Linked DNA regions of Homo sapiens: region 2 is linked to region 1. The links are contacts of gene promoters, found by promoter capture Hi-C in human tissues and cell types (Jung and others, 2019). All regions are on one chromosome and are shown on one strand. The core of a region is centred on a gene start or on the middle of the fragment in contact, and the rest is flanking DNA. Distances in the headings are between cores, read along the strand shown. Region 1 holds the start of TNFRSF1B (TNF receptor superfamily member 1B). Region 2 overlaps VPS13D (vacuolar protein sorting 13 homolog D).

Region 1 (2,925 bases), core at 127-2,626:
AGTCTGACAGCCCCCATCTTCCACCCACAAGAACTGGACTCTCTGGCCTCAGATCAACAAGTCACCTTATGTCACCACAGAAGCCAGTGCCACCTCCCACCTTCCTCCTCGGTCAAGATGTCAGATGGGGGCAGATGGGCCATGTGTCCATCAGGGGCGGCTCTGAGGAAGGATGAACGCCCACCTTCCCCGCAGCCTCAGGGCACAGGGGCCGAAGGCAGGAGAGGCCCCCTTTGGAGGAAGAGTTCCCCCCAGACCCTTCCATGAAATACAAGTTCTCTGAGCCTCAGTTTTCCTTCTCTAAAAAATGGTTTATCTTATCTTACCAAACCATGGAGACAGTAAAACAAAAATGGGGTTATCCTATGTTACCAGACCAGGAGACAGTCAAAAACAGGCAAAGGGTGCACAGTCCCTTGTACGCCCGTTGCTACTGTGGGAGTGACGTTCATATTGAATAGGAGCCCTAGGGTTTCTGCTGTCTCCATTTTCCTGCGGCCCCCGGAGACTTCATTTGCCTTGCTCGATTACCAGCCCAGACCTCCCTCGCTTGCCCTGTCCCCAGAGGCCGCAGAAAACAGACTCTGCAGTAGCCCCCGGACGCATCGGAGGAAGCAGACAGGCAGCTCGCCCTCCAGCTGTGCCCTCAGTGGACCTGACACACACCTGGTCCTGCTCTTCAGACACAGGACCCTGGTATTTCTAAGAAATCGGAAAACCGTCGCCCAGAGGAAAAGGAAGTCTTTTGAAGAGGGTGCCCGGCGTGGGCAGTGGGGCAGCGCCCCGGCACAGCCCCTTCTCCACCGCGTGGGAGGGAAGGGCTGTCGCGGCAGTCGCCGGGGTGAGGGAAGAGGGGTCCCGGGTCTAGCGGGGGTCTGCCCAGGACCCGCTGCTCAGCCCCAAATGCCCCGGCCTGCGCTCGCGGAGGAACCAGGGTGCGCCCCTGTCACGACGCGGGTAAGAGGGGCTTCGGGGGCCAGAGTTGTGCCCCGAGCGCACGTGTGCCGGGCCCGGAGTCCCCAGCGGGTCCCCAGAGGCGCGCGTGTCTGATGCGGATGGGGGGCGGCGACTGGGACTCCCAGCCTCCCAGCCCGTGACAGCGCCCCGGGAGAGCGCGGCCCGGGCACCCGAAGGCTGCGCACCAGCCGGGTGGACATGCGGGGCGGCTGTCCCCCGTGGGCCGCGCGAGTCACCCACCTGGGCGGGCAAGGCGTGCGCCGCAGCCCAGAGCTCCAGTCCGACGGCCAGCGCGGCCCAGACGGCGACGGGCGCCATGGGTGCGGGCGGGGTCCGGTTGCCCCCTGCCCTCGCGCCCTCGCGCCCTCGCAGCCCAGCGCCTTCTCTCCAGGCTCCGCTGCGCTCGCTAGCCCTCGACTGAAAGCGAAAGCCCGCGCCCCAGCGGGCCAGAGGCCAGGCGGCGGGGCGGGGCGGGGCCAGCCGGCCTTGGACACGCCTCCCCCACGCCCCTCCCCAGACGCTGCTGGGCCTCCGACCCGACCACTCCAGCATCGCTGGGCCGATACCTCCAGCGTCACTCCCAGCACTCGGGTGACCCCTCAACCTCCTCCTATCGTCCCCTCCTCTTCGAATCACCATCTCCACCTGCCCGGCCTCCACCTGCCCGGCCTCCACCTGCCCTCCCAGCTCCCACAGGCTTCCCTGTCCCGTGAGGGTGAGGCACTAATTTGGAAAAACATCCCCCAAAGCTGACAGCTGCTTTAGGGGAACCAAGAGAATTCTAGATCATTCACTTATTTAGACTCTATTTTAAATATATTTAATTCTTATTTTTTAATTTTTTTTGAGACAAGGTCTCACTCTTTCACCCATAGCTCACTGCAGCCTCCAACTCCTGCGCTCAAGCGATCCTCCCACCTCAGCCTCCCGAGTAGCTGGGACTACAGGCTCGGGCCACCATGCTAGGCTGATTTCTTTATAGAGATGGGGTTTCGCCATGTTGTCCAGGCTGGTCTCGAACTCCTGAGCTCACGTGTTCTTCCCACCCTCAAGTGATCTTCCCGCCTCTGGCCTCCCAAGGTGCTGGGATTATAGGTGTGAGCCACTGCACTCGGCCTGTTTAGACTCTAGAGCCAGACCACCTGGGTCTGGATCTCTGAACTGACCTCATAGGACTATTCTAAAAATTTAAAGATATGTAATATACATAATGCAGTCTGTACTTTATATATACTTAAGTAAGTATCTACATATATAACAATAGGCATTTATAAATCTTGGCTGTTGTTACTACTCTTCGCGTGTTCATTTATCCTTAAACACGCATCCAGCCTTCTCACAGGGAGAAGACTCTGCACTTCCCTGCTCAAGTCTCCTGCCCAGGCAGGGGGCAGATGAACAGAGGCTGGGAGAGAATGTCACCAGGGAAGCTGCAGGGCCCTGAGGGGCTGCTGAGACCAGGCCCAGGAGAGCTGGCTTCCCCAGGATTTACATCATGACCGAGCACCCATTCCAGCTGCAATCTGTCCCCCCATCCCCACTTTGAGTGCCAGCCCTAATACAGGGCCAGCCCTGCGGGGCCAGAGCACATTCCTCCAGCCCTGGATTACGGGGGTCCTAGCCCCCAGCACATAGGGCATTTCTAAGGGTTGGGGTGGGCTGGGTGGCAGGAGGCTATTCTGTTCCCTGTTTCCTCACTGCAGGCTGCCTGAAGAGGTACAGAGACCCTTGCTCCCGGCCACCAGCCCCACAGTGGAGCCTGCAAGGATGGTGCTTCTAGGTGCTGAGTGCTGAGTGAGAAACTGGGAAGTGACTCCCTGGGGATGGAAAACCCCACCTCCTGACCAGGAGGCTGGGAAATCACCTGGTTTCCACATGTTTCTGTGACATGGACCACGCTGAGGGTGTGGCTGGTATGACCCACAGCCTTAACTCTGCAGAGCCGCTGGACAGACATGCAGAGCTCTT
Region 2 (2,925 bases), core at 319-2,818, 220 kb before region 1:
AAGGCAGGGAGTTTTGTCCGTTCACTGGTAAATGTTCCGTACCTAGACCTGTGCTGGCTCAAGTAGCTGCTCAGTAAATACCTGTTGATGAACATGCTTATTACTGAGGGCACAGCCCCTCCACCTGTACCTTTCTATTTGGCTAATTCCTTTCAGTTAAACTCTAGGTCTCAGTTTAAGTACTACTTCTCTTAGGAAGCTCCCCACCCTCTAAATCTGGGAATACAAATCCTTTCCATACACCCTCCACTCCTACTCTCATTAACACAATATTTTAATTATCTGATTAAGGATCTCATATCTTCTTGTTGTTAATGTTATTAAGATATTATGTTATTAATAATAATTAACAACACTATTAATATGCACTGTTAACATTATCTTGTTTAAATCTTATACTTTTTTAGGTTACCACATATTTCATTGATACTTTGTTTATACTTTACGCTTATCTTTTTGTTGTACTTTAGTTCTTGTAACAACTTTGTGAGGTAGATCCTATCCCCATTTTACAGATGAAGATACCATATCTTCATATCTGGCATAAACATGTTCAATAAGTATTTGTTAAATGAGTAATCATTGGGGGTGGAGGAAGTACAGAGTTTCACATCAGCTCTTATGACAAATTATCACCTGGAGTGCTCTAGTTGGTCCATCTGGGATGACTCTGATGGATAACATTCCAGAACCAGGTCTCATTTTTTGATTAATAAATTGTTGTTCAGGTGGAACTGGCCCCAAAAGCTCCATGGAAGTGTCAGGACCAAGAACAACTTCAGCTCCATCAAACAAACCAGAAAGTCCTCCTTTGGCCTAAAAGACATTGGAGTAGAGACATGTGAGAAAAGACAGAGGCACTGACTTTGACAAGTTAACACATCATTTCAAACAAGTTCCTAAATTTACATTCTCCTCTGGAGGGTCATGATCAATGTGCAACAAAGCCTTTACTATTTGTTCAGCTTTGCAGATGATGAAAAACAGGAGAATTACTTCAGTAAGATGAAAAGTTATGCTCATAAATTTTGGTAATTATGAATAAGAGATAATTTCATGCATAGATCAGTTTAATTCTGCCTTTTACTAGTACTAACTTCTTGTCATTAAAATAAACTTCTAAAAAAGTAGCCAAAACTAGCTGTTTCTTTGAGTATTCTTACTAGGGTTTGCTTAAAAATCTGAAATATTCTGAAAATAGAAAATAATTATTATAATCATTCAGCTTTCCAGTAAGAGGAAAATTCTTGAGTTGAAAACCTCCCCAAACAGGCCTATGGCTGGACAACCAATCCAAATACTCAAAAGATGGTGTTTCTTCTAGAATGGAATACAGAGTTGAGAATGTCACCTGATACCCAGTTATTCAGGCTGTTAAAAGAAAAACTTCAAGCCAGGCGAGGTGGCTCAGCCTGTAATCCCAGCACTTCGGGAGGCCAAGGCGGGCGAATCATCTGAGGTCAGGAGTTTGAGACCAGCCTGGTCAACATGGTGAAACCCTATCTCTACTAAAAATACAAAAATTAGCCAGGCATGGTTGCAGGCAACTGTAATCCCAGCTACTCAGGAGGCTGAGGCAGGAGAATCGCTTGAGCCCGGGAGGCGGAGGTTGCAGTGAACTGAGATTGTGCTATTGTACTCCAGCCCGGGCAACAAGAGCGACACTTTGTCAAAAGAAAAGAAAAGAGGAAAAGGAAAAAGAAAGAAAGAAAAAGAAAGAAAGAGAGAGAAGAAAGGGAAGAAAGAAAGAAAGAAAGAGAAAGAAAGGAAGGAAGGAAGGAAGAAAGGAAGGAAGGAGAGAGAGAGAGAGAAAGAAAGAAAGAAAGAAAGAAAGAAAGAAAGAAAGAAAGAAAGAAAGAAAGAAAGAAAAGAAAAGAAAGAAAAAGAAAAAAAGACAGACTGACTGACTTCAGCCGAATTAAATTTAAAGGGGTTTAATTGAGCAATGAACAATTCACAAATCAGGCAGCCTCCAGAATCACAGCAGATTCAGAGAGACTCCAGGGATGCCTCGTGGTCAGAACAAATTTATAGACAAAGAAAGGGAAGTGATGTACAGAAGTTGGAAGTAAACAGCTGGATTGGTTACAGGTTGGCGTCTGCCTTATTTGAACACAGTCTGAACACTCAGCCATCTGTGAGTGGTGGAAGTATGGCTGCTGTGACTGGCCAAGTCTCAGCTATTGTTACAGGCACATACTCCTAAGTAAGGATTTCAATCTTGCCTGCCGATTACTCTAGGTTACAGTTGGTCCACAGGGATTCAATTATAGAAGTACGGAGTCCTTCTCAGGCCATATTTAGTTTGCTTTAACAAGGCCTTTGGAGGAAAACACCTTGCTACATGCCCCAAGTAAATCGAGTCTACAGGATTATGGCTGTGGGAAAGCAAACACAAGGCTAGAGAAGACAATGGCAAAGAGTGTCTAAATCCCCTTTGTTAACTTTTAAATATTGACTCATGAAAAGCAAACTTTGAGCAGGGTTTATAGTACAGGTTTCAACACAAAGAAAGCTTTTTATAGCTATTATAAGTTTAGAAAGAAAGAGCATATACAACCTAATAAGAGCAGTGTCAGAAAATGTTTTAATGTCTTCAATGACTTTATTCAGCATAATAAGATTGAAACAAGCTTACTTCCCTAACCAAAACACATTCTGCTCTGCTGAATACTGTTATTATACTGTCACTAACAAGCAGGGAAATGATGAAATAGATTCACAAAACAACAAACACCAAAAAAAGATTTTAAGGAAGAAAATGCTCCAAGAGCATTGGAATTACATGGGCTTTAGAAACAAACTAGAAGTGAAGTCAGGGTCAGACATGAAACCCACCAATTATAACAAGCCCTCTTTGCCTCTAGAAGTTTGAATTGTATTGCTAATTGAAAATCACAAATCCATTCCAGATGTGTGCTACAT

Evidence for each region. The method cuts DNA at HindIII sites, captures the fragments that hold promoters and counts their contacts. A contact is called where the count stands out against the background at its distance.
Region 2: a fragment that was not itself captured here is called in contact with the fragment with the promoter of TNFRSF1B in region 1 in 1 of the 25 tissues and cell types used here (liver).

What each region holds. Positions count from the first base shown.
Region 1 is chr1:12,165,442-12,168,366 of GRCh38, reverse strand. TNFRSF1B (TNF receptor superfamily member 1B) reads right to left here and starts at 1,376. Exons shown (of 10, transcript NM_001066.3): 1 at 1,198-1,376. The coding sequence starts at 1,275. It overlaps MIR7846 (microRNA 7846), which reads right to left and starts at 1,424; the gene lies at 1,329-1,424. RefSeq lists an enhancer at 309-950 and silencers at 991-1,220, 1,231-1,540. The HindIII fragment of the contact is 11,494 bases long and covers 1-2,925 here.
Region 2 is chr1:12,380,867-12,383,791 of GRCh38, reverse strand. It overlaps VPS13D (vacuolar protein sorting 13 homolog D), which reads right to left. Exons shown (of 70, transcript NM_015378.4): 58 at 637-816. Among named protein-coding and RNA genes, the nearest start is that of SNORA59A, 120 kb to the left of the region's middle. The HindIII fragment of the contact is 4,520 bases long and covers 1-2,925 here.